Linked DNA regions of Homo sapiens: all the other regions are linked to region 5. Evidence: promoter capture Hi-C in human tissues and cell types (Jung and others, 2019). All regions are on one chromosome and are shown on one strand. The core of a region is centred on a gene start or on the middle of the fragment in contact, and the rest is flanking DNA. Distances in the headings are between cores, read along the strand shown.

Region 1 (5,201 bases), core at 2,286-4,785, 310 kb before region 5:
AGACTTTGAAAAAGCTTCTAAGGTAGAGAGACAATTACTCAGGTATCTGAAGTTGTGAAATCGCAGGCTGATGAAGGATGGGTGACTGCTACCAAATGTCTTAAGTGTTTCTTAAATTTATCTTCATAAGATAATTGTGCATGAGGAAGAAGTGCAACAGTACACCCAGAATCCACTTGTTTCTTGTGCATGTGTGGCAGATGCTATCTGTCAGTGCCCCATGGCATATCCCCCCAGCACCCACTACTGCGGACAGGGCATGCCACTGGCCTCCAGTGTCCAAAGCCGGGACTCTCCGCCTGATCTCCTCTGGTCTCTGGAGCCAGTTCTGCCTGTGGCTCCAGGAACTTGCAGGTTTCAGGTACTTTATTAGCTTCCTTCTCTTCCGTGTCTCATTTCCCAGTTCCCTGCCAGTGTTTCCTGGGACCACCCCTCAAATAAACTTCTTATATTTGAATCCTTGTTTTGGATCTGCTTCCTCAAGATTTCAAGTGAAGACAGCAAGACACCAAGTTGAGAGACCTAGCCTGCAACATGTTGAGGAAAAATTTCATAAAGGATTTTGAAAGGATGTCCTGTAAATTAAGGCAGTGTTTAGGGTAATACAGGCTTTTTCTCCCTCTCCTCACCCCCACACACATTTGGGAACTCATGGAGTAGATGACACTTGAATCTAGCCTGTGGAGCCGATGTAAGTAAATAGTTTGGCAAGGATCAGTCCTCATGACTCCAATATTTAGATAAAAAGCTAAAGAATTATTGAGATAAGAATTTTTAACCCACTTCCCATTTGCCCTGAGAATACTGCACTGGTAGCGAGCTGTATTTTTTTCTTTTCTAAATAGGAAATGGATTAAATGGGATTTTTAAAAAAAAAACTTAGATAGCTGATCAAATGAATTGCAGTTGATAGAATTACACAATCCCAGCTAGAAATTTGCCAACTGAATAAATGTTCACAGTGAGAAGTGAGGGACAGTTCGATTTGGAAATATAGATAGTAACCTGTTGTAAGAGAGAAGTAAATGCAACAGGCTAGGTTCTATGTGATGAGATTACATATATAAATTAAAAATACAGACTTTCTTAAGTCTATATTTTCAGTAGAGTGGAATATTTTTAGTCAGTATCATTCATAAGTTTGCAAAAATGCTGAACCTGATGTATAAGCCCTTTTATTTTTAACTGCCATCTAGCTTTGTTAAATGAAAACTTTTATTCGTACTTACTCAATTTTAATTCCTTTGAGGCATCTGGGTTGTTAGGGGGAGGTAGAGCCTAGGATGACCCCCAGATTTCTCTTTGAACTGCCTGGGTTGATCGTGGCACCAGTAAACAGGGTAGGGAATAAGTGATAAAGACTGGGTTTGGGTTGGAAGAGGTAAGGAGTTTTGTAATTTAGGGCATCTGTGGCCTGGGAAGGGAGTGGTGTTTGTGAAATGTTGGATACAAGGTTTTATGCATGGCTTACAACCTGCCCTCTGTTCCCTGCTTTATTTTCCAGCCTTTCCCACTGCAGCATATGCTTCAGCCGCATCTGACCGCTCTCTCTCAGTTCTCACTGGTCATTCCCTCTGGCTGGAACACCTTTGTGCCCCTCCCCTTCTGTCACCCAGGCAACTCCTATTTGAACATCTTTGGTGACAGAGCACTCACTATCAGCAAATGGTGTGGCATTAGTGATTTAGAAAGTGGGCTCTGGAGCCAGCCTGAGTTTTAACCCCAGCTCCATCCTGTACCTGGTGTGACCTTGCCATTAACTCAGTTTCCTAGGACAATGGAGATACTAGAACATCCCATAGAGCTGTTAAGATTAAATGAGTTATACGTTTAAAGCACTTTAAACAGACTGTGACACATAAAGTATTCTCTAAATCTTTGCTATTATTGTTAACTACTATCTTATATGACAGTTCATATCATGTTCTATTTAAACAAAAATTTAAAGGATTTATTGTAATGGAACTTTTACCAAATAGTGCCAATTTGAAACAATGATTGTTCTAATCTTTTCTAAATCTTATCATAAAAACAGCTGTTTCAAATAATTTTTATCAGGCTTTCCCCCTACTTTTTAACCTTTAAATCACTTTTGTGGCATGCCATAATCTGTAGCCTACTCATTGTTTATGCCCGTATTGGATTTATTTTTTGCTTAAGCATGATATTTGAGGATATAGATTATTTCCAATTTTTTATTATTTTGGTGGACATGCTTGACAAGCTTCTTCCTATGAGTTAATTGCTTGGGATTTTCCTAAAAAGTGAAATTTATTTTATTTTTGTACTTTTCACTATAAATTTCTCCAAGTGTTCTTTAAAATGTTTCTATAATCTATTATAACCTTATGTATCTGTTAACCATTATAAGCACTAACATAAGAAATTTAAGAATGTATGCATAATTATTTAAATGTCTTTTTAAAGTTTTGAATATAAGTTACGATATACCAAAAAACTTAATAAGGTGAAAACAATATTGCAAGGGGGCATGAGGATTAATTTTTTCTAATAGATGTAAATTACTATAATTTTAAAAATTGACTTGGAAATATGTTAAGTCATAGACCTAGTTAATCCTAAAATAGAGCAACCTGTTCGTTTTTTCATGTAGTACATACAATTTAGTTCCTGAGAAAAATAATCTATTAATAATAAAGTCATGAAATAAACAAAATTGGTGATATCTTTTCAATGGAATACCATTCCCCTTTCATATTTTAGCATATTTAAAGAGCATTTTATAGCACAATTATAACTATTATAGATGTCAATATAAGAAATTTAATGACTTATTTATAATGATCCAAATGTCCTTTTTAAAAATCTTTGAATTAGAGCACAGAAAATTCTATACTATCCATTGCACTGGTTACTTGAGAAGCTGGCCTCCAAATATTGTTGGAATGGAAGAAGAAAGGAACAGTAAGAAAGACAACAGTAATTTTACCTGCCTTGTGGCCATTGGAAGATTACAGCCATATATTGTTCCACAGAACAGTGGAGAGATTAATGTGAAACCAACTGAATTTATAACCCGGTTTGCAGTGAATGGAAAATTTGTCTATGTAGATCAAAGGTAAACATTTACATGTTATAATGATTAGAATTCAATGGGATATTTGAAGCTATTAAAGGCGTGTCTTAGTAGCACTGCTAGTTTTTCTTTTTCTTTTTTCTGTTTCAGAACAGAAAATAAAGTTTAAATGAAATAAGAATATGGACATGTCAGTAAATTTGCTTAAGCCAACATGTAAACTTGGAAGAGTGTCTCTTAGCCAGTGGTGCAGAAACTGGGCATGATCTGTGGCCACGATTTTACTGGCAAAAGCTAGTAGGAGCACAGCCTGGATCGGGTGGAGGCTTCATGCCTGGGTGCCTGTTCTGTGTTGCAGCTCTAGTCTGGGTCTAGGGCAGCCGAGGGGAGCCCAGTGATATGCATGGGTCACTCATCCCCTACCCTGTGCACTTCTTTACGATCCTGACCATATGTGGGCCTACAGTCTTCTGGGAGGGAGTACACTCACCACTTCTGAAGTTTATTTTCAATTTTGAAACCAGGGCAACAGCGATTTTAGGATATCTGCCTCAGGAACTTTTGGGAACTTCTTGTTATGAATATTTTCATCAAGATGACCACAATAATTTGACTGACAAGCACAAAGCAGGTAGGTATGCATTGAGCAGAATACATTTTGGGGAATTTAAAATGACAGTTTTAACTCTTAATTTCCCATTCCTGTGAAATTTGAAGTTTGAATTAATCTTCACAACATTGATTTTTATAGTCATTGACTATTATGCTGATAATTATCTTTTCTCGTTAAGTTCTACAGAGTAAGGAGAAAATACTTACAGATTCCTACAAATTCAGAGCAAAAGATGGCTCTTTTGTAACTTTAAAAAGCCAATGGTTTAGTTTCACAAATCCTTGGACAAAAGAACTGGAATATATTGTATCTGTCAACACTTTAGTTTTGTAAGTAATTTTTTATGTTAAGACCTTTATATTGATTTCAAATGAGTCTCTTTGCTTTTCTCCTCTCATCTTGCTAAACCATTAAAACTGTGTGATCCTCTGGCCTTTTATTGTAACTTGAGATTTATCTTTTGAGTAATTCATTTACTGTTCATTGACATTAGTTCTCAGAATTAAGCTAAAAGTTTTCATTTCTGTAATACATTCCTTCTTACTTGATATAATATGTGAGGGTAAAGGCATTTATTCAAGCATTTTCTTCCTACCCTCCATGGCCATTCAGTAAACAATGCAGACGTGGATTTCTACTGTGCATTATTGTAAGAAATTGTTTTGTCCTCCCTGTCATTTTTACCTGCACATCTTATAAGCCTGGGGTGCCGCCATGTCTGTGTAGGCATGCTCAGCACGGGGGAGAACAGAAATCCAGCCCAGGTGTTGCTTTAGCAAGCTCTGGTCTGTAGCTGTGTCAGCCTGAAGGAAGAGTCAAGTTTTCCTGATTTTATAGGAGGCTAGGATGGCCCCGTTGTAAGTCTTACTTTTTTTCTGTAAGTTTCTCTTTGAAATTGCTGTAAGGTTTCCTTGAACCAGTTATTTCCTTGTCTACAATACTGAGAGAAAAATAATAAAAAAAAAAAAAGTTTAATACTTCCAGTATTTCCTGTCACCCATCCCAGTAGTCTTTGCCTACTTATTATTAGTACAGGAACTGAGAGTTTGTTATTGTGAGAACACATACTTTATAGAGGAATGGGGCATTTGGCAAACACCATGATACTTAGCACATTAAGACCTTGATTTCTGGTGGTGATACTAACAATATGTGTATATAAAACATAAATGGGCCACAAATTGACAAATTAAATATACAGATCTTAGTGTAGTTGCTATAACAGTTTCCTTCACCTTAGAAAGTAAATCACCTATGGTGTTTTTAATTCTAGGGGACATAGTGAGCCTGGAGAAGCATCATTTTTACCTTGTAGCTCTCAATCATCAGAAGGTAAGCTTACTTTTAGATGATGGAAGACTTATTACTAAGACATATTATTAAGACTATTACTATCTTTTTCTGTCCTGGAGAGGGGAAAATTTGAAGGTGAAATTAAAAGTAGTTCTGCAGGTTGGGTTATAGGAATCCCAACTTTGGTTTAGAAGAGACTAAATTCAACGGGAAATAGATATCCCATTTAAACTCCCAGAGGTATCACCATGTCCCCCT
Region 2 (5,559 bases), core at 2,106-4,605, 270 kb before region 5:
TTTATTATAGGCAAGCTGAACCTTAGCTTAAGGTCACCTAGAATTGAAAAGGAGGCAGTGACTTGAATAACTAATCCTTCAATGCAAAGACGTAGACATATACTCACAAGAAACAAAAGCAAATGGGAAACCATCACCTCGCCAAAAAGACAAAGCAAAAATCCAGTGACTGACCCTAACAAGACGGCAATTTGTGAGCTCCCCAACCAAGAATTCAAAACAGCAGTTTTAAGGAAACTCAGCGATCTCCAAGATAACACAGAAAAACAATTCAGAAATTTATCAGGGAAATCTAACAAAGACACTGAAATGATTTTTTAAAACTGAAACAGAAATCTTGGAACTGAGAAATACATTTGCTGAGCTGAAAAACTCTAGAGGCTCTCAACAGCAAAATGAACCAAGCAGAGGAAAGAATCAGTGAGCTTGAAGACTGGCATTTGAAAATACATAGAGAAGAAAAAAGAAAAAGAAGAACAAGGAACAAAGACCACCTACAAGATATAGAAAAAAACTTCAAAAGACCAAATCTAAGAATTATTAGTGTTTAAGAGGAAACTGAGGAACAGCAAAAGGTAGAAAGCTTGTTCAAAGAAATAATGATAAAAAGCTTCCCTAAACTTGAGAAAGATATAAATGTGCAGGTAGAGGAAAGTCTTAGAACACCGAACAGATTCAACCCAAATAAAACTACCCCAAGGCATTTAATGGTCAAATTCCCAAAGGCTAAAGACAAAGTGAAGATCCTAAAAGCAGTGAGAGATAAGAAGCAAATAATATATTAAAAAGCTCCAGTTCATCTGGCCACAGACCTCTCAACAGAAACCACAGGGGCCAGGAGGGAATAGAAAAACATTTTCAAAGTGCTAAAAGAAAAATAAAAACCTGTCACTCAATAATATTGTATTCTCAAAATTGTCATTCACATTTGAAGGAGTGATAAAATCTTTTAGAGAAAAACAAAAGCTGAGAGAATTCACCAACACCAGTTCTGTTGTGCAAGAAAAGCTAACGGTAGTTCTTCAATCTGAAAGAAAAAAAACACTAACGTGCAAAGGAAAACTATTCAAGGTATAACCTCCACTGGCAAATTAAATACGCAGACAAACCCGGAATACTCTATGACTGTACTTGTGGTGTGCAGTCCACTTATAACTCTAGAATGAAGCCTAAAAGATAAATCTAACAAAAACAACAATAGGTAGAGCAACCTGTTAAGAGACAGGCAATATTAAAATAAATTGAGGCAACTAAAAGTCAAAATGTGTGCTGGGGGTGGTGGAGTTAAAGTGTGGAATTTTCTGTGGGTTTTTTTTTTTTTTTTTTGGCCTTTGTTTCTAGTCTTTTATTTGTGATCTAGGATAAGTTGTTATCTCTTTAAAATAACTTTTATATCTATAAAATGTTTTTTGTAAGCCTCAAGGTAACCACAGCATAAAAACCTATAGTAGCTTCACTAAAAATAAAAAGCAACAATTTAAAATATACTACTAGAGATAATCACTTAACCACAAAGCGAGAGAGGAGTCTCAAAACACAGAAAACAAGCAACAAAATGACAGTAGTAAGTCCTTACTTATCAATACTAACACTGAATGTAAATTGTCTCAATTCTCTAATTAAAAGGCATAGAGTGGCTGGGGATGGTGGCTCATGCCTATAATCCCAGTACTTTGGGAGGCTGAGGTGGGCAGATCACTTGAGCTCAGGAGTTCGAGACCAGCCTGGGCAACATGGCAAAACATGTCTCCACAAAAAAAATATAAAAATTAGCTGGGCACGGTGGCACACGCCTGTAGTCCCAGCTACTTGGGAGGCTGAGATTGGAGAATCGCCTGAGCCCAGGAGGTCAAGGCTGCAGTGAGCCATGGTCGTGCCACTGCACTCCAGCCTGGGCAACAGAGTAAGACTCTATCTCAAAAAAATAATAATAAAGAAGGCATAGAGGAGCTGAATTGATAAATAAGTAATATCTAACTACATGCTGCCTTCAAGTTGCCCACTTCGCCTATAAAAATACACGTAGACCGAAAGTGATAGGGTTGAGAAAGCTATTCCATGCAACTGGAAACCAAAAACAAGCATGACTAACTATACTTATATCAGATAAAATAGACTACAAATCAAAGACTATAAAAAAGATAAGGATGGTCACTATATAATGATAAAGGGGTCAATTCAGGAAGAGGATATAAAAATTATAAACATCTATGCACCTAACACCAGAGCTCCCAAAAATATAAAGTAAACATTAATAGGGAGAGAGAGACTGCAGTACCATTATAGTGCGGGCTTTAACACCTCATTCACAGTAATAGACAGATCATCCAGACAGAAAATCAACAAGGAAACAGTGGGGTTAAATTACACACTATATCTAATAGGCCTAACTGGCATTTACAGAAGATTTTACCCCACTGCTGCAGAATTCATAGTCTTTTCATCAGCACATGGAATATTTTTCAGAATAGACCATATCTTAGGTCTGCATAAATTCAAAAAAATAGAAATCATGTCAAGTATCTTCTCTGACCGCAATGGAATAAAACTAGAGATCAATAACAAGAGCAACCTTGGAAAACATACAAACATGAAAATTAAACAACATGCTCCTGAACAACCAATGGGTCAATGAAGAAATTAAGAAAGAAACTTAAAAATGAATTGAAACAGAGGAAAATGGAAATACAACATACCAGAATCTATGTGATACAACAAAAGCAGTACTAACAAGGAAGTTAATAGCAATAAATCCCTAGATCAGAAAAGTAGACTTTACATAAAGAACCTAATGATGTACCTCAAGGAATTAGACAAGCATGAACAAGCCAAATCCAAAATTAGTAAAAGGAAAGATATAATAAAAATCAGAGCAGAAATAAATGAAATTGAGACAAAAAAATTAATGAAATGAAAAGTTGGCTTTTTGAAAAGATAAAATCAACAAAACTTTAGCTAGACTAATTTAAAAAAGAGCAAGAGAAAGAAAGAGACTCAAATAAATAAAATCAGAAATGAAAAATGGGACATAGAAACTGAGACCTCAGAAATACAAAGAATCATTAGAGACTAGTATGAACAACTGTATGCCAACAAATTGGAAACCTAGAAGAAACAGACAAACTCCAGAACACACAGAGCCTACCAAGATTGAACCATGAAGAAATAGAAAACCTCAACAAACCAATAATCCAAGCCATAATAAAATGTCTCTTATCAAAGAAAAGCCTAGGAGTTGATGACTTCACTGCTGAATTCTACCAACCATTGATTTATTTATTTTTTGAGATAGGGTCTCACTTTGTCAGCCAGTCACTTTGTCAGGTCTCACTTTGTCAGTACAGTGGATGGTTCACTGCAGCCTCAGCCTCCTGGGCTCAAGTGATCTTTCTGCCTTGGCTACCTGAATAGCTGCAACTACAGGCATGCGCCACAACACCCAGCCAATTTTTGGATTTTTTTGTAGAGACAAGGTCTCACTATGTTGCCCAGGATGATCTTGAACTCTTGAGCTTAAGTGATCCTCCCACCCTGGCCTCCCAAAATGCTGGGATTACAGGCATGAGCCACAGTGCCTGGCCTCTATCAAACATTTAAAGAACTAATACCAATACCAACCCTACTCAAATTATTCTAGAAAATTGAAGAGGACATTCTTCCAAATTCATTCCATGAGGCCAGCATTACTCTGATACCAACACCAGAGAAGAAAATACCACAAAAGAAGAAAACTACAGGTCATATTTCTGATGGACATAGATGCAAAAATCCTCAACAAAATACTAGCAAACTGAATTCAGCAATACATTAAAAAGATCATTCACCATGATCAAGTGGGATTCATCCCAGGGATGCAAGGATGTTTCAACATATGCAAATCAATACCTGTGATATATCACATTAATGGAATTAAGAATAAAAACCATATGATTATTTCAATAGATGCCAAAAAACATTTTTATAAAATTCAACATCCCCTTATGATAAAAAGGCTCCTCAAAAATGGGTATAGAAGGAACATACCTCAAAATAATAAAGCCCATCTATGACAAACCCATGGCTAACATCATAGTGAATAGGGAAAAATGGAAGGCCTTTCCTCTAAAGACTGGAACCACACAAGGATGTCCACTTTCAACACTGTTATTCAACGTAATATTGGAAAGTCCTGGCCAGAGTAATTTGGCAAAAGAAAGAAACAAAAGGCATCTAAACTGGAAAGGAAGAAGTCAAATGAGCCTTGTTTGCACATGACAAATCTTATACCTAGAGAAACCTAAAGACTCCACCACAAAACTGTTAGAACTGATAAATTCAATAAAGGTGCAGGACACAAAATCAACATACAAAAATCAATAGTATTTATATATGCCACCAGTGAACAATTTGTAAAAAATCAAGACACCTAGGAATCAATCTAACCAAAGAAGTGAAAGATCTATACAAGGAAAACAATAAAATTCTGATGAAAGACATTGAACAGGACACAATAAAATTGAAAGATACTCCATGCTCATGGATTGAAATAATTAATATTGTTAAAATTACAATACTACCCAAATTAATTTACAGATTCAATGCAATCCCTATCAAAATACCAGTGACATTCTTCACAGAAAGAGAGAAAACAATCCTAAAATTTATATGGAACCATGAAATACTTCAAATAGCCAAAGCAATCCTGAACAAAAAGAATAAAGCTGGAGGCATCACGCTACCTAACTTCAAAATTTACCACAAAGCTATAGTAACCAAAGCAGCATGATTTTATGCCAGTATGCCAGCATATTGGCATAAAAACAGACACACATAGACCAATGGAACAGAATAGAGAACCCAGATATAAATCCACGCATTTACAACCAACTCATCTTTGACGAAGGCATCAAGAACATACAATAGGGAAAGGACAGTCTTTCCAATAAATGGTGCTGGGGAAACTGGATAACTATATGCAGAAGAATGAAACTAGACCCTTATCTCTCAACATATACAAAAATCAAATCAAAATGGATTATTGACTTGAATCTAAGACCTGAAACTGTGAAACTACTAGAAGAAAACACAGGGCAAATACTCAAGGGCATTGGTCTGGGCAAAGATTTCTTGTGTAAGACCTCAAAAGTATAGGCCATCAAAGCAAAAATAGACAATTGGGATTACATCCAGCTAAAGAGCTCCTGCACAGCAAAGGAAACAACTAACAAAGTGAATAGACAACCCACAAAATGAGAGAAAATATTTGTAAACATCACTAAATCATCAGAGAAATGCAAATAAAAAACACAATGTGATCGTATCTGTCACCTCAGTTAAAATAGCTTGTATCAAAAGGACAGGCAGTAACAGAGGCCTACAAGGACGTGGAGAAAGGGGAACCCTCATCCACTATTGCTGGGAGTATAAGTTAGTACCACCACTATGAAGAATAGTATGGAGGCTGCTCAACACACTAAAGATAGAACTACCATATGATCCAGCAATGCCACTCCTGGGTATATATGTGAAAGAAAGGAAATCAATATATCAAAGAGATAGCTGCACGCCCGTGTTTATTGC
Region 3 (5,704 bases), core at 3,205-5,704, 330 kb before region 5:
ATGTGACCATTATTAATATCAGAAAGCTTATTAAAACACATTTGTAAAAATTTGTAAAATATTAGGATTATAGACCAAATTTACTAACTATCTAGATTTGTGCTACAAACAAAGAAATGAATTGTTTGACTAAGAAGATCTTGCCTTTGTTCTATTCTGCCAGGGGCCATTAAATAGAAGGGTATTTGCATTTAGTAAGTACAGTACATTTGAATTTCACCAAGGAGGCAAATTCACTCAGTGAGTTCATTTGCTAAAATGCCAATGATCAAAGCAAAGACATGATTTTAAAAGGTCAAAGTTTACCTTTTGAAATTGAAGTAATGTATATATACATACATATATATAGTCAGTCCTTCATATCCATGGGCAACCAACCAAAAGTTGAAAATATCCAGAAAAAAAAAAGCAAGTCTGTATTGGACATATCCAAACTAATTTTTCTTGTTATTATTCTCTAAACAATACCATATAACAACAATTTACATAGCATTTACATTTATTAGGTATTGTAAGTAATCTAGAGATGATTTAAAGTATATGGGAGGATGTGCATAGGTTGTATGCAAATACTGTGAAGAGACTTGAACATCCACAGGTTTTGGTATCTGCAGAAGGCTCTGGAGCCAGTCCCCCATGGATGCTGAGGGACAATTATATATAATTCCAGACTATTAGGAAGAAAATTATTCATCTGTATAATTGTTTTCTGATTATTCCTTTAAGATGGCTAAAAAGAGAAAAGGGAAAAGAAGCTGACTTAATCTGACCCTCTCTTTTGCCTCAGAGAGGCTGTTTAATTTTATTTGTACCAACCACACAACAGGCTGACGGTGGTGAGAGAAATGGCCAGGTATGGTGGAAGGCGCACCAGCCTGCATTGAGTAGTCTTCACTTGGCCTCCACTGGTTATAGGACCTTGCACAGTCATTAACTTTACTCAACTCCTTCATCTGTAAAATGGGGGTAGTAATAACTTCACCACTGTGCTGTGAGAATCAAGTGTGGAAATATTTTTGATAAAGTACCATAAATATAAAAGCTCTTCTTGATTGAAACTGTGAAGAGGAAAAGCACCACTTGATTAAGCATTTGTCTTCGTGGTCTTTTTTATTTGGAATATTTATAAGCATCTATTTATAAATTTGATTAAATTTTCTATAAGTGTTATCTTTTTTTAAGTAGAAAAATACTAAAACCTCAAAAGAGTTCAACTGAATAAGACAGTTCTAAAGTAGGCCAGCCTTTCTTCAAAGCCTGAAAAATATTCATTGTTAAAAATCTGTAAAGAGGGAAATTTGTTAAGATGAATCAGAAGCTTTAAAATATTTATCCATAAATTGTACTTCTAGGAATTTATCCTAGAGTATAATTCAAGATGCACACACCACAATATTATTAGCCATATTATTTATGATATTGAAAATATTAGAATGTTGAAATATCCAACAATAACAAATGAATAAATTATAACTAATCAGTGGGCTACTATTTAATCATTTCAAATTATGTTATCCAAGAATATTTGAAACTACGCAGAAATATTCATGTTAGAGTGTTAAATGAATAAGACAAGACATGAAAATTATATACTATGATCTGAGTTTTATTTATTATACATGTAGAACACACAGAAATATCTACATGGTACCCATGCACCATGGCTAAGCTAAATAATCATTGTATGTATCTACATGTTTAGGAAATGCTGGAAGGAGACACATTAGAATATTAACTGTGATTACTTCCAGGTGGCATTATGGGTGCTTTTCCTGGAATTTTTCAAATCTCCCACAAAACGATACATTTGGAAATAAATCTTTTAAGATTACATATTTTTAAAAGCTATGCAGCCTGCATGATTTTTAAATGCTGACAGTCTTCTATCACTACCAACGTATTTCATTTTAGTAATCGTCTGCTGAGTACATTTCTGATGCTAGGAACTATACTAATGTGAAAATTAATATTATTGGTAAGAGTTTCCAGTTTTCAATATTGGTTACCATCCAGGTGGATTTTTAGGCAAAATAAATTCCTTTTGATTAAAGGTCTGGGATTCTTAATCCATTTTCAGGCTGTTTTAATACAGCTATCATAAAGTTTTTGGTTAAGCCATCAATGATGTTAATAACTTTAATGTTAATTCTATGAAAATCTTATTCTTGCTTAAGTTTGTCATGAGATCATATCTAATTATGTAAGTAGCACACTAATTATTGTTCACTGTCAGTTAACATAACTTTTGTTATCCTTATGGGAATGGTGTTGCCTGTCAGCGTTAGGAGGAGAATGGTTCATGTAGACAGTAAGAATCATTTCAGGTCATTAGGTGCTCAAGGGAGCATTTACAGCTAAGGATTTTATAGGAATTAGGATGATTGATTGGACTTAATCTCACATCTATTTCTCTATCAAGAACTACAGAAAAGGTACTTCATGTAGTTTGATATTTTATCCTGCTTTTTTGTAGAGTGGAAGATGGTGAACACCAAGTTAAAATGAAGGCCTTCAGGTACAATTGACTTGTTGAGATGGTACATGGTGAGTGGAAAGGTACACAAAGGCAAGCCTGTAGCCTAAGGCAAAGGTGACACCAAGGTAGAAGGGCTTGAAGATGAGGCTTTTCTCTCTTGTTATGCTCTGAGAAGCAATGTTATCAGGCACCTGATGTCTTGCTTTTCTGTCTACTTGGATAACATTTTGGCTTTCATGCCTTTAACTTTCTCTTAGAATAGCTTAAAAAAAAACCTATTATTTTCTTCAAGCACTAAAGAAAAATTGATCAATGACTTAAACAAATCAGTTACTTATGAGGGGCATCTGACTGTTAGAAACCCATCCTCGGCCTGGCGCAGTGGCTTACACCTGTAATCCCAGCACTTTGGGAGGCCGAGGCAGGTGGATCACGAGTTCAGGAGATCGAGACCATCCTGGCTAACACGGTGAAACCCCGTCTCTACTAAAAATACAAAAAATTAGCCGGGCGTGGTGGTGGGCACCTGTAGTCCCAGCTACTCGGGGGGACTGAGGCAGGAGAATGGCGTGAACTCGGGAGGCAGAGCTTGCAGTGAGCCGAAATCGCGCCACTGCACTCCAGCCTGGGCGACAGAGCAAAACTCCGTCTCAAAAAAAAAAAAAAAAAAAAAAAAGAAACCCATCCTCATGAGTTCTTTGTCAATTATTTCAACATATTTTTTCAACAACAACAATAAAATATTTTTCTACATCTGGCAACATCGCCTATCAGAGTTTTGCTTTTTCTCCACTTATTTTGTTTTCTGATAGGATTCTACAAAATACTGCCATGGTTCAACATGGCAGTAACTGTACACAGAATTAGGAGCCAGAGCTCTGATGAAGTATTAAGCAGAGAGCTAGCCTCTGGATAAATATGCCTTTCCTTAATGAAAGCCTCCAGAAACCTTTTCGGGTGTAGCTCTTTCAAGTAAAGTACTTTATTCAGACATTGGTTCTTTCACCTTGCCCTGGGTTTCCTGGCTCCCAGCATCATCATTGACCTTCTCCACAGTGGGCTTTCTCCCACCCTGCTCTCATCTCTCTCCAGATCCTGGCTCAGAGAGAGCACCCCTTCCTCTGCTGTACATCCTGGAGTCAGGAGTCTCTATCCATCGCTGCTGTCCATGCTGATGGGGAATACTGTTAGAAGAGATGATCCTTCTAGTGAGAGTGTAACTACAATATTCTTTTAATCATAACATTTTAATTTTAATCAAATTGCTCTGTAATCCCAGCTCCTTGGAAGGCAGAGGCAGAATAATCATTTGAGCCCAGAAGTTTGAGGCTGCAGTGAGCTATGATCATACAACTGCACTGCAACCTGGGCAACAGAGTGAGACCTTGTCTTTAAAAAGATAAAGAAAAAAATCTAATTGCTCACAAATAGAACAAAGTATGAGTAGATAACTGAATTTTATGTGAATACAATTTAATCTGAATCCTATCCACTTCGCCCAACAGTGTGTATTTTGTTCCAGGAGTGTCATTGCCGAGGGTGAATGGTTGGGGCAGGGGGTGTGGTAGCTCCCACAGCCTTCATCGGTGTTCCTCCCTACCCACCTCCCTACTCTTATCTGGAAAAATTACACTTTCTTTTATCCAATTTAAAGTCTTTATAAAAACAGATCAGGGAAGTCTCCCACTTACCCTCTTTCTCATCAGATTGCCCCTAAACTATTCTAATAGAGAAATTCTGGAGTTGCTGTGTGTTGTAGGAGAGGGATTTACAGCAAAGTGTGACAGGTAAAATCATGTAATTCTTGAAATCTAAGATACACTTTTCTCCTCTACGTTTTATCTTCTGTGGAAATTTCTTATCATCAGTGGCATCTTCCTGTCAATTGGCAGCATTTCTTTCTCTTGTGATGCTTTAAATAATAGTGCGTCTTACAATTGGTGGCTCTTAGATTTGATGAAATAAGGGTAGTGGTATGAAAGGTACTGAGGTAGCTTAGAGAGAGCAGTGATTAATCATGTAGTAGTCAGAGAAAGCTTCCCAGAAGAATAACTGAGTTGGATTTTGAAGAAAGAATAGGATTTCTCCAACAGTATAGTCAGAAAGGACTTTGTAAGCCTGGTAAAGAGCAAGGCATGGAGGAGATGTGAGACGGTATGGCATGTGTGAGGATGAGCAAGTCTTCAGGCGTTGCTGCTGTGGAACATTTGGAGCTGTCGGGGAAAGTCTTGAAGAGAGAAACTGGAGATGAAGACATGAGGCAGATCAGGGAGAACCCTGGCCTATAATTAGGGAATCTGGCTAGTCCTCTTGGGCAGTGGAAATGCAGTGAATAGTTTTATGCAAGGGGATTAGGTGACTGGATTTGTTTTACTACATAATTTTGGAAGTCATAGAATAGACTAGGAGAGGAAGGAACAGCAGTTTAAAAGGTTTTGGGGTAATGCAATGAGCCTAAATTAAGATGATGACAGAGGGGATGGAGAGGAAGAGAAGACATATTTAAGAAATATTTTAAGATCTAGAATTGACAGGAGTTTGTGATTCTTTGGCTTTTTAGGGTGAAGAGGAAGGGTCTAAACCAGGGGTATCCAATCGTTTGGTTTCCCTGGGTCACGTTGGAAGAAGAAAAATTGTCTTGGGCCACACATAAAATACACTAACACTAATGATAGCTAGTGAGCTAAAAAAAAAAAATCTCATAATGTTTTTGGAAAGTTTATGAATTTGTGTTGGGCTGCATTCAAAGCCATCCTGGAGCACAGTTTGGACAAGCTTAGTCTAGATTGAGTCTAGTTGTGTTACCTACCAAGATAAACCCTATAGAAGGAAGATAAACCCTATAAATCAGGAGTAGTACAGGAAGAATTGAAAATGGGGGTACATCGCAGAGAATGCATGCAGTTTGGGGTTTCTTGAATTTTAGATTTCTTGAGAATCATTTAGGTTTATAATTCTAGTTCCAAAGGTCAGGAACTGAGTGAAGTATGAATGAGATAGGGTTATAATAACAAATAGCTTATGAGTAGCTGTAAAGCCTTGTGAGGGAATGAGATCTCAGGGTGAATAAAGAGTGAGGAGAGAGCGGTGCTAAGCAGGGAATCTTAGTGCACACCAGTATTTAAGGATCAAGTAAGAGCTGGGTGAGGAGACGAGGGGACTGAACCGAGCAGGGAGAGTGGAGGAGGACCAGGAGGCAGAGAGGCTGTGGAGACCAGGGGAGAATGA
Region 4 (5,503 bases), core at 2,716-5,215, 260 kb after region 5:
ACAGTTAAATTTTAGTTGCTGATAGAGACAACAAAGACATGAGTAAATCTCTTTAGTTTTCTAGTTGGTCCACCGTAAGACACAAGCTGGATGGGTAGCAAGCTCATTGCGCAGGGAAGGGTAACCAGTGGGAAGGAAAGAGCTGGCAGTTGGAAGGCTCCAGCTCATGGTCCCAGTTCTACCACTCACTAGGTTGTGACCTTGGTGGGAACATGAACATTCTTGGGCCTCATGGGCTTCAACTGTATAAAAGGAAGGGGTCAGAGACAGTGATTTCTATACTTCCTTCCCGGTTTAAAACATATGATTCAGTTATGATCAGAAATAGACAGAAACCACGGAGTATCTCTTCACATTTTTCAGAGTTCTGCTGAGAAAATAAATCTAGAAGTCCCAGCCTGGGAAATAAAAGGCAGCTGCTTTTACCTGAGTATTCTCTCTCTCTCTCTCTCTCTCTCTCTCTCTCTCCTCTCTCTCTCTCACACACACACACACACGCCCCATTAAGAAAATAATAATATTGAAACAGCAAGCCGTAAGAGTAAAAACAAACAAAGGCTGAAGGAGAAGTGAGCAGTGTAGCCTGTCTAGGAAACCATCTGATTCACAGACTGAACTTTAACATTTTAGACTACTGGCTACCAAGAACATACATTTGAAGGCCAATCGTCAGAGAGAGAGAGAGAGAGAGAGAGAAAGAGAGGGAGAGTATGTGTATTTTTCTGTAAAGTAGTGGGTGGTCTCCTTAAAATGGGTTTCTTTGTGTGCTTAAATGAGCTCATTCTATTTCTTCTGTGCTTCATGTTTTTTTTTTAAATTTAGAACTTCAGAGAGTATGATCCTTACTACTTAGTTGAGAAGTTCACTTTTCTACTTGCTCTCTTTGTCTTAAAATTCTCTAGGAAAAAATATAAAGGATTTTTCTATTTAAATGACACTCTAATGAAAATATCGTGAGAAAGAATAAACTAATTCTCTATCAATCCTTTTAGATAACACCCAAACTCTTGCTTAAATGTCCATTGTGTATTCTTTTATTATTTTGTGTATATTATTAACCATATTTACGGACTGCATCTGTTAATCAGTCATATCATGCCTGCTTCAACTCTGCATTAACTCCAATTTCTACCATTGGAATAGTCCTCCAAACTGGCCCATCCTCAAAAGCATCTCAAAGTGTTTCCCAGGGCTACATCCCATGTACTCTTACTTCCCTGAAACAATGGTGTCTGGGTCCTTTGTTGCCTTTGTTGGTGCAATGTCTTTAACTCCTCAGAGAAATATGGCAATCATAAATAGCATTATTACTGCCCCCATTGTATTCATGGGGAAAGTGAGGTGCAGAGAGGTTAAATGACTTGCCCTAGTCTACACAATGAGAACTGGCAGAGCCAGGGCTCCAAAAACTAGGTCTTCTGATTCTAAAGCCAAGACTGCTTTTTCAATTTCCTCAACGCTTTCTCCTGCCTAAGCGGAAGCTGAAGCTGAAGTCCCAGCCTGTTCCTGTGTTGAGGCAACACGGTAAGGAGAGTACAGGGTATATGCATGGGGCATAGAGTAACAAGCCACCACAATAATAGGCAGATTGGACAGAAATTTATCAGTTTCCTTGAAGATCAAGCCTATTGCCCAGAAAGTTCATTTTCATCATCAAATTTAGGAACTACAAGAGTTTGGATTATCACTGGATGAATGAGTCAAAGAAAAGAGTAAGAGATGAAAATACAGTCATCATTTCTCTGGCCCTTCTAGCTAGAATGTCAGCTACCTTCTAGTATTTTAGTGTGTGGACTGACTTGAAGCCATGTAGCTCATTCAAAAAAGACATGACTTAATGGAAAGGAATTTAACAGGAGCCTGGTTTAAATGAGGCATGAAGGAGTCTCTCTTTCTTTTAGAAGGTGCCACATGTGACTAGATTAAAATTCACTTACTCTGCGGTAATAGTTAGTATTCTGGAAACTTTTAAGAATCTACAAGTTTGAGGCTTTGGTACAAGGTATTTATATCCTTTAATAACATTTATAAAATAATAGGACAGATATAATTGCATATTTCATAAGCACTACAGTTTAATAAGTATCTTTTAGCAAAATGTCACATTAAAAAGCAGTTCTTAACCACTGATAATTTATAGTATTGGGGGCTTTTATTTCTTTCTCTGTTCCTGGCAGAAGCCCTCGTCTTCTGTATTGCTCTCCAAATGGATAAAGTGTAGCCCATTTTAGCTTAACTTGAGGCCAAAACTTTTAATGGTTGGTCTATTCTAATTAAGCCACCATTGCTCATATGCCCCTTCTCATGGGCATATGTGCTTGTCATCTTGGCCAGCCTGTCAACTGTGAGTCACAGTGCCTTCCTAACTCAAGCTGCATTTTCCCAGGATAGTTCTCTTGGGAAATGCAGTGATCATTCCATCCTTCTAATTTATAAAAAGCCTACAATATGGCACAGCTTTGTTCAATTTAAAATAGTACATTGCTTACGAGGGACAAAGCTTTTCATCTGCCTTTTGGGGGAAACTGTTAGTATCTTGGAAAACACAAGTTTTCTTAAATGCTAAATTGGAAATGCTGTTAGACACTTTACTTAGTATTTCAAAAACTTCTGCAATTAAAGTATTGTGAAGAATGAATCTCTCACTAGGCAGTTGCATTAGAGGATCAGGAATATAATGGCATCAGTATAAACTAGGTATACAGAGGTAGTGAGTAATAAATTCAAATTAAGGACGTTTTCAATTTAGATAACTCTGAAATATTTAAGTTGTAAATATGGCCTCAATAATAGTCTTTTACTCAATTTGTCTGTAAACATTACATAGCACTATGGTTCACATGACACTTACATACCTAAGCTCCAAAATGGAAAAACAGGTAGGTTATGTATCATGTTCTCCTTTGATTATTGTAAAAAAAAATTGCAAAATTTTGGGGAAATGCTTATCATAGATAACCCTAAATTCAGCCCAAACATAGTTCTTCTCCTTTAAAAAAAAAATCACTCCAAGGGAGTTTTTAGGGAAGAAGCTTAGATTTCTAAGGAACTATCAAGGAACAGAGGGCATAAAAACAGTGATGGAAATTCCCTTTCCAGCACAGGAAGAAGCAGTATGCTTGTACTGATGCTAGGCTTCTAAGGACGGACTCTGTGTTTGAGAAGAAAAGTTCTGTGGTACATGCAAGAGACAGGGTTAGGGTGTTAGAGTTAAGATGACTCACCAGAAGGTCCTTCCAACCCAAATGACTCAGTAGAAAGTTATGCTTTTCATTAAATGGAATAGACCCAGTCTGGCTCCTAAGCAAATCAGCCAATGACGTTTTAGGTTTCTGAATCTGTGGAGTTCCCTCTCTAACTTAAACATAGAGATAGCCACCTGCCAGAAGCCTTGTTCATCTGCACAAGAACATCCATAGGCCTCACTTTCCAGTATCCAACTTGATCATGCTCTAGCTCCATTAATTAAAATCTTTGGGATTAACAGGTCAAAAAGACTCACAATTTGTAACTGCTTCCTTTGCATGGTTTAGGAAGTCTTATTGTTATAGTAATTTCCTCTCCCTTAAAAGTTAGCATCTAGTTAAAAAAAAAATCTATACTTCTAAAGCAGTTTCCCTAATACTTGGTGTGAAAACCGGGGAGTAATATGGTTTGATTATATGTTAAAATTTCTTTCAAGAAACTAGCTTGATTTAGCATAATGGTAGACTTATGTTTTGTCTAGCACACAAAATTTACTGTTACTTGGCAGCAAGACAAAAATAATGACTTGTTTTTAAAAACTCCATTTGGCTATGATAATTTGATGAAACATCTTCATCTACTGATGATTTCAGCCTCCATGAAAAACCATGCCTGTAATGTGATGATCTATTACCCATTAACTATGAGAATGTTTTGTGGTAGTTTTATAACCATCTGCTGAGTGTGAGTGTTTAACTACAATATTATATTTCACCCACAAACAAAACTATAACAGTCGCTGGCTGCTAAATGGTTTCTGATGTGTGTTTTGTAAGGTGCAACAAAGAAAGAGTTAAAAATAGCCTTTAGGACAACTTAGCAGTATTTTTATGCCATAGTTGTGTATATAATCGTGAATCATTTGCTGTTTCTCAAAAGAGAAAACAGGTATTTCTTAAGCAACTTTAAAGAAAAAATTGGCTCTGTTCCAAGGTAGTATTTCTTAGCCAAATAAATATAGTATTTAAGTGTGCTTTTAAAAATTCAGTCTTCATTTCTATTTATGTATGAATTTCAAATTATTGAATTTAAGACAAGTTTCAAAATGAGCAAAAAGTCTGAAGACAATTTTCAGAAACACATCGGTAAAATGTTGATCTGAAGAATACAATGCAGCCTTATCTTCGGTATAATGTTCTACACAATTTGCCTTAGGAGATTCATAATAGATTTTCATTTTGATGCCAAGGTTCCGACATGTCTAAAGTAATTTCATTTAAGGATTTTCTCCTCTAATAATAATAGACCACAAGCACGTATAAAACAGTTGCCTTTTTGTACACCCTCGGGAATTTACAAGGAAGCACCATAAACCTGACTGTAAATATTAGATACTGCTATTTTTATTGTTAGTGTAAAAATTTGCCTTAATTCCTTCTCCAGAGTCAAACGCATCTCAGTTCTCGAACTTTATAGTTTTCCCATTCTGAACACTGAGTCTGCAGTTTAAAGATCACCCAACTATGGTGTTATACACATTAGTGAACTGCTAGGTCCAACAGATTATTAAGATCATGTTACTCTATCACTCTTCCAAGTTTTCAGTCACACGACATAGTGATATTTCTCTGGTGTGCTTGGATGTATGATTATTTCAAAGTTGAAGTTATCATTAAAAGAATCACCAAGTGAGAATGCCAAAATACAAGTTTTCAGTCTACAATGCAAATATTTGACTCCAGATTAAAGAACTGTTAGCAATAACTCCAAGAAAAAAAAGGTTCCACACCTAAAATTCATTTTGGAATCAAGCGCTCTAGCGTTCCTGAACTGTATCAATACTAACATTGGAGTCGTGCCACTGCAAAGTTGTTGCTACTTTATTATATAATACGCTTTTATTATGTAATGTGTTCCTATTTTATATGCTTAAAATTATGTCATTCATAATAAAATTAGATGTACGGCTTTTGCTTTTTCACACGCAAACCGCCACCCACATTCAGTATGTATACAAGCGCGCAGGCCATACGTCCCCAGGACCGCTCAGCTTCCTCCGAGTTTCAGAAGCTTCCCGGGTCCTGACAGTAACCACCACCCCCCAACTTTTTTTCTTTTCCACTAGAGGCAGAGGATCTTTCCCTAGAAGAGATTCTGTGAAACGCTCCCTCTTATGGAAACACACATAAAGTCTCTCTCTTGCCTGTCTCCCGTTGAAGATCAACCAGTTCTCCTGCCAGGTTTGAGGACCCGGGCTCAGGCCCCGGCAGGTATCCGGGATGGTCCCTCTCCCTAACCCGGGCAAGGAGCATCGGTG
Region 5 (5,431 bases), core at 1,898-4,397:
AGGTAGAATGGGGACCTATGTCTTTAATATCTTGCTCAGAAATTAAGAAATATTGTTAGAGTAGGTAGCTAGTCATGAATGAGCAGGGCAGGAGAGGGCTCCCCTTATACACACACCCCCCTCCACACACACACACGCACACCCCAGGAATTTCAGGCGACCATCAGGTGACGGTCAGGTGGTTATTAACTGTCTTTCTAAAACAATAATTGGTTGCAGCCAGCACCAGGGAATAGCATTCTCCCAATAGATACAAAAAACCTGAAACTAGTGATCAGCAACTTTCCAGTAAGATCTCAGGAGCTGGGTGAGTGTGCGCAAGCGTGCACATTAAGAAGCAAAATGGCAGAATTTAACTGGTATTTGATCTTCTAGGGACGTGCAACTGCTAATGGAAGAATGCCTCAAGTAAGCATGTATACGACTCCAATAAACACACTATGCATGCTCCCCTCCCAAGTCCTGGCAAGCCACTGTGCATGCAGACAGCCCACCCCAAGGGAAAAATCAGGGGAGAAGGGACATAGACCCCAGAAGTATGCCAACGTATAAAACCCTAAGTCAAAGGTCAAATGGGGTACTTGACTTTCAAGTCGCCCACTTGGCCCTCTTCCCAGTGTATTTCCTTCCTTTTGTTCCTGCTGTGAAGCTTTTTAATAAACTTTCACTCCTGCTCTAAAAGTCGCTTCTGTCTCTCCTTCTGCCTTATGTTCCTCGATCAAATTCTTTCTTCTGAGGAGGCAAGAATTGAGGTTGCCGCAGACCTGTACAGATTTGCCGCTGGTAACAGTATGAATATGATCATACTCCTTTTGTCCCTAAATTTCTATGGTATAGGACTTGCACTTTACTAAAATATACAAACTTGCAAGAAAAGGAGGCTGTTGCATTGACCCTACACTTAATGCCAATGCCCACCGTTTATATTTATGCCTTTAATCACGACTGTCGTAAGAAAAATATTATTGCTGTCATTTTCCTTGAAACTGAAACTCAGAAAGATAAGGTAGATTTGCCCAAAATCATAAAGAACCAGAGCCTGGATTCAAACCTCACCTCCATCTGATTAAAAAGGCCATGATTTTGATCTTAAAAATAGTCCGAGGAGAGGAGAGAACTCCATTGGAATATGGGGGCAGAAGGTGATGTGATGTGATGTGTCTACCAGCCAAGGAGTGCCAGCAACCATTAGAAGCTAGGAGGGAGGCATGGAACAGATTCTCCCTCAGAACCTCCAGAAGGAACCAACCCTGCCGACACCTGGATTTTGGACTTTCCAGACTCCAGGATTGTGAGAGAGGAAATTTCTGTTGTTTTAAGTCACCCAGTTTACGGTACTTTGTTCCAATCCCCTAGGAAACTCATACATCATGCTTCTATTTTGGAACAATAACAGGATGGTAAAAGTCCAGAAAAGATGAAGATGATGAATATTACAAATACTTGTCCATCTCATGCTATTTGTCCCCCTCCCATACCTTACTGATTGATGTCCATGGCGCACTGAATGTTCACAGCTAGAATATTCTTGGACACCTGCATACCTCTGCTCTACTGGTTGTATGCTTACCAAGAATCGGTTTTGTTTATTTTTAGTTGTTTTTACTGTTATAATTTTGTCACTTTGAGACAAAATAGGGAAATAGGCCAGACCCATGCCTGTAATCCCGACATTTTGGGAGGCCAAGGCAGGAGGATCACATGAAGCCAAGAGTTTGGGACCAGCCTGGACAACATAGCAAGACCCCCAACTCTACAAAAAACTTAAAAATAGAAAAAATAGGCCAGGTGCAGTAGCTCACGCCTGTAGTCCTATCACTTTTTTGGGAGGCCAAGGCAGGAGGATCGCTTGAACCCAAGAGTTTGAGACCAGCCCTGGCAACACTGTGAGACCTCATCTCTGGAAAAACAATTTTTTTTTTAATTAGCTGGGTGTGGTGGTGCGTGCCTGTAGCCTCAGCTACTTGAAAGGCTGAGGTAGGAGGATCACTTGAGCCTGGGAGGTCAAGGCTGCAGTGGGCCATGGTCCTGCTACCACATTCCAGCCTAGCAACAGAGCAAGACTCTGTCTCAAAAATAATAATAATTAATTAATTAATTAAAATAATTTTTAAAATAAAGAGAAAATAGAGAATTTATTTTATTTTATTTTATTTTTGAGGCGGAGTTTTGCTTTTATTGCCCAGGCTGGAGTGCAATGGCGCGATCTCGGCTCATCGCAACCTCTGCCTCCCGGGTTCATGCGATTCTTCTCTCGAGTAGCTGGGATTACAGGCATGTGCCACCACACCCGGCTAATTTTGTATTTTTAGTAGAGACCAGGTTTCTCCATGTTGGTCAGGCTGGTCCCAAACTCCTGACCTCAGGTGATCCACCCGCCTCGGGATCCCAAAGTGCTGGGATTACAGGCGCGAGCCACCGCGTCCGGCCGAGAATTGTTTTATTAAGGCTTGTATGTTAATTCATCCTACCGTAGAAAATTTAAGAGTGTTCATTAAAAGTTTATTTTCTAGGTCCTGATGAGTTCTGACTTTCTGTAATTCTAAGCTGATCTAACAACAAGCTAACCATATATAGCTAAAAGTTATAGGCTACGTACACGCGGTGTTCACTGTATGCCAACGCTGTACACAAATATTTGTCTATGCTAACTTGTCTGAGATCATACATCCCAGAAGTGGTGAAGTCAAGTTTGAAACCCAAGCACTCTGGCTCGGGATACTGCTTCTCTCCCCTTAGCGCATATTACTGGCATTAGTTGAAGACTTCTTTAATCCAAGTAAATGTAGAAAAGCAACAATTATAAATAACAAGAGTCCCTCGGGTAGACCGCCTGACTCTCGGATCAACTGAGGTTCCACCCAGAGCACGCCCGCCTTCAGTGAGCCGCAACCCCTATCCCTACGGTCTTTATCTGCAATTCTCTACGAACTGATTCACTCGATTTTTAAGGATTTTTTTTGTTTTCTTTTCATTACTTCTTTCAGTTTGGGGGAATCTTCCTGCACATTTGACTCGGCTCTGAGTGCGCAGACCAACGTGTTTCCTCTTTCTCCAGCCTAGGGCGGTGCCAGCCCAGGGAGCCTGCGCTTAGCGGCCCCAGGCCCGCCCCTGACACTGAACGCCGCTTGTCCCCTCCGGCTTGCCGTCCTCGCAGCCATGGCGGCCGCCGCGCTCCCAGCATGGCTGTCTCTGCAGTCGAGGGCAAGGACTCTGCGTGCATTCTCCACTGCCGTCTACTCGGCCACTCCGGTCCCGACACCTAGCCTGCGTGAGTGTCTGTCTCGTCTTCTCTGGGCTTTGGGGGAGGTGCAAGAGCGGAATACCGGCCTCATGAAGGGTGCCGCGGTGGCTGAGCCAGCGCCGCCCGGGGGAGGCCAGTGCGTCCGCTGCCAGGCCCGTCTGGTAGGAAAACCATGGACGTGGGTCTGTGCTCTGCACCCGCGTTGCCCGGCTTCTAGCCGCCTGTTTCTGCCCTGGGTGCTCTGGGAGTTTGCTCAGAAAGCTTACATCCCCCTTCCCCGTGACCTGCTCCTGTGTTGCCCCCGTCCACAGCCCCTGGCACAGGTTACTGGTGCTGTGTTGTTTATCGGGCATCGGCGCTGTTGAACCATGGATTTCCCCAAACATTAAGAGAGTCATACGGCTGTGCTAGGACAAATTGCTGCTCTGAATTCCAGGCCACCAAATGGGCGGCCTTCATTCAACAGGCGTTGATGACCTCCATTTAACAGAGATTGTAGGGATGCTTGATAGCGTGCTTACCCCGGAGGACTCTAGTGGAAAATACAGATTTATTAGCGGAGAAGTGCTATGTAGGGTGAGAGGCGCTGTGATAGAAGTGTGGCTAGAATGACGGGAGCGTTGAGGAGGAGCTGGCGTGAGTCTAATCAATAGGCGGATCCTACCTGTGCTACTTCCTGTTATATCTCTAATTTACTCTCCTCATACTACCAACTATCTAGTTCAGGTGACCATCTCATTTCTACAAGTTTTTTTTCCGTTTCCTGTTTCCCCTCTTGCTCTCCTACATTGAATTCTCAAAACAGCCAAATGAGGTTTTCAAAATTTAGATCTTGTCTTGCTGCTCTCATGTTCAAGATCTACAAATGGTTTCCCATTGTTTTCAGATAAACTATAAATACATTAATCCTTCATACTGGCTCTTCATAGGTCTAATAATTGTCTATTTTTAAATTTTCATTCTTAAATTCTTGGAATACTTAACTCCTATTGTATACCATGCAGTGTTCTAGACACTCACCGGAGATACGGCAAGGTGGGGAAGTCAATAGTATAAACAACCAAACAACTAAATAAGATGTCAGATAGGGTTTAATGCTTTGAAGAAAAATAAAGTAGAGTATTGAGAATGATGGATTTGGGGGGAGTAGTGGCCACAGGATGGTCAGGAAAGATCTTTCTGAGGAAGTGACATTTGAACAGGGCCCCAAGCCATGCAGAGATATGGGGAAAGAGCCTTTGGGGTATGGGGAACTATAAGTGCAAAGGCCAAAAGTTGAGAACAATCTGAGGGGTGTGATCAAGGAACGGGAAGAAGGACAATGTGGCAGGAGCTAAGTGTGAGTAGAGGAGAGAGTGGTAGTATAAGACGTCAGAGAGTTAGTTAAGTAATAATCTGATCTCTCAAGAGTTTGTAGACATTTCATTTGGATTTTTGGCTTGGGTTTTATATTGAAAGGCTTGGAACAGGGAACTGATATAATGTGATTTACGTTTTTAAAAGATCACTGGCTGCTTTACTGGGGTAAGAGTGGAAGCCAAAGATCTGTTTGGAGGCTGTTGCAGTAATCCAAATGAGGTGATGGTGACTTGGATTAAAGTAATAGTGGAGAAGGAGGTGTGGTTGTATTTGCGATATATTTTGAAGGTAAAGTTCATAGGATTTACTGATGGATTTGATGTGGGGCTTGAGGACAAGTCTCAAAAAAATCCTGTTACATTTTTGTTCTGAGCAATTGGATGAATGATGATTCCATGTACACGAATTGGGAAGACTGGAAGAAGAAAATCAAAAGCCCTGCCAAGGGGCTGAGTGTGGGGGCTCATTCCTGTAATCCCAGCACTGTGGGAGGTCGAGGCCTGCGGATCCCTTGAGCCCAGGAGTTTGAGACCAGCCTGGGCAACATGGCGGAACCTCGTCTCTATTGAAAATACAAGAAATTAGCCAGACGTGGTGGCCCATGCCTGTAGTTCCAGCTACTCCAGAGGCTGAAGTGGGAGAATCACCTGAGCCTGGGAAGTCGATTACAGTGAGCCGTAATCGCACCACTGCCCTCCGGCCTGGGTGACGGGAGTGAGACCCTATCTCAAAAGAAAAAAAGTTCTGCTAAGGATGCATTATAGTTAAGACGCCTGTTAAGTGCCTTCAGCCTCTTTTCTCTCTGTCTCTCTCTGTTCTGTTCTTAAA

What was found. Contacts are between HindIII fragments. The study calls those that stand out against the background at their distance.
Region 1: a contact is called between a fragment that was not itself captured here and the fragment with the promoter of MRPS35 in region 5, in 2 of the 25 tissues and cell types used here (H1 embryonic stem cells and lymphoblastoid cells).
Region 2: a contact is called between a fragment that was not itself captured here and the fragment with the promoter of MRPS35 in region 5, in 1 of the 25 tissues and cell types used here (IMR-90 fibroblasts).
Region 3: a contact is called between a fragment that was not itself captured here and the fragment with the promoter of MRPS35 in region 5, in 2 of the 25 tissues and cell types used here (adrenal gland and lymphoblastoid cells).
Region 4: a fragment that was not itself captured here is called in contact with the fragment with the promoter of MRPS35 in region 5 in 3 of the 25 tissues and cell types used here (H1 embryonic stem cells, lymphoblastoid cells and neural progenitor cells).

What each region holds. Positions count from the first base shown.
Region 1 is chr12:27,397,696-27,402,896 of GRCh38, forward strand. It overlaps BMAL2 (basic helix-loop-helix ARNT like 2), which reads left to right. Exons shown (of 17, transcript NM_020183.6): 10 at 2,839-3,079; 11 at 3,562-3,668; 12 at 3,829-3,979; 13 at 4,924-4,982. All of the region lies in intron 1 of BMAL2-AS1 (BMAL2 antisense RNA 1), which reads right to left. Among named protein-coding and RNA genes, the nearest start is that of BMAL2-AS1, 46 kb to the right of the region's middle. The HindIII fragment of the contact is 4,832 bases long and covers 1,120-5,201 here.
Region 2 is chr12:27,439,341-27,444,899 of GRCh38, forward strand. The region is part of intron 1 of BMAL2-AS1 (BMAL2 antisense RNA 1); the gene reads right to left. It also overlaps a transcript of SMCO2 not described here. Among named protein-coding and RNA genes, the nearest start is that of BMAL2-AS1, 4.5 kb to the right of the region's middle. The HindIII fragment of the contact is 5,519 bases long and covers 597-5,559 here.
Region 3 is chr12:27,373,873-27,379,576 of GRCh38, forward strand. BMAL2 (basic helix-loop-helix ARNT like 2) reads left to right here. Exons shown (of 17, transcript NM_020183.6): 4 at 2,474-2,515. Among named protein-coding and RNA genes, the nearest start is that of BMAL2, 44 kb to the left of the region's middle. The HindIII fragment of the contact is 3,078 bases long and covers 2,916-5,704 here.
Region 4 is chr12:27,963,801-27,969,303 of GRCh38, forward strand. All of the region lies in intron 4 of PTHLH (parathyroid hormone like hormone), which reads right to left. Among named protein-coding and RNA genes, the nearest start is that of PTHLH, 6.2 kb to the right of the region's middle. RefSeq lists an enhancer at 5,082-5,503. The HindIII fragment of the contact is 6,179 bases long and covers 877-5,503 here.
Region 5 is chr12:27,707,685-27,713,115 of GRCh38, forward strand. It overlaps MRPS35 (mitochondrial ribosomal protein S35), which reads left to right and starts at 3,148. Exons shown (of 8, transcript NM_021821.4): 1 at 3,148-3,271. The coding sequence starts at 3,160. MRPS35-DT (MRPS35 divergent transcript) reads right to left here and starts at 3,063. Exons shown (of 5, transcript XR_001749448.2): 1 at 2,979-3,063. RefSeq lists enhancers at 2,579-2,658, 2,689-2,768, 2,779-3,568. The HindIII fragment of the contact is 7,635 bases long and covers 1-5,431 here.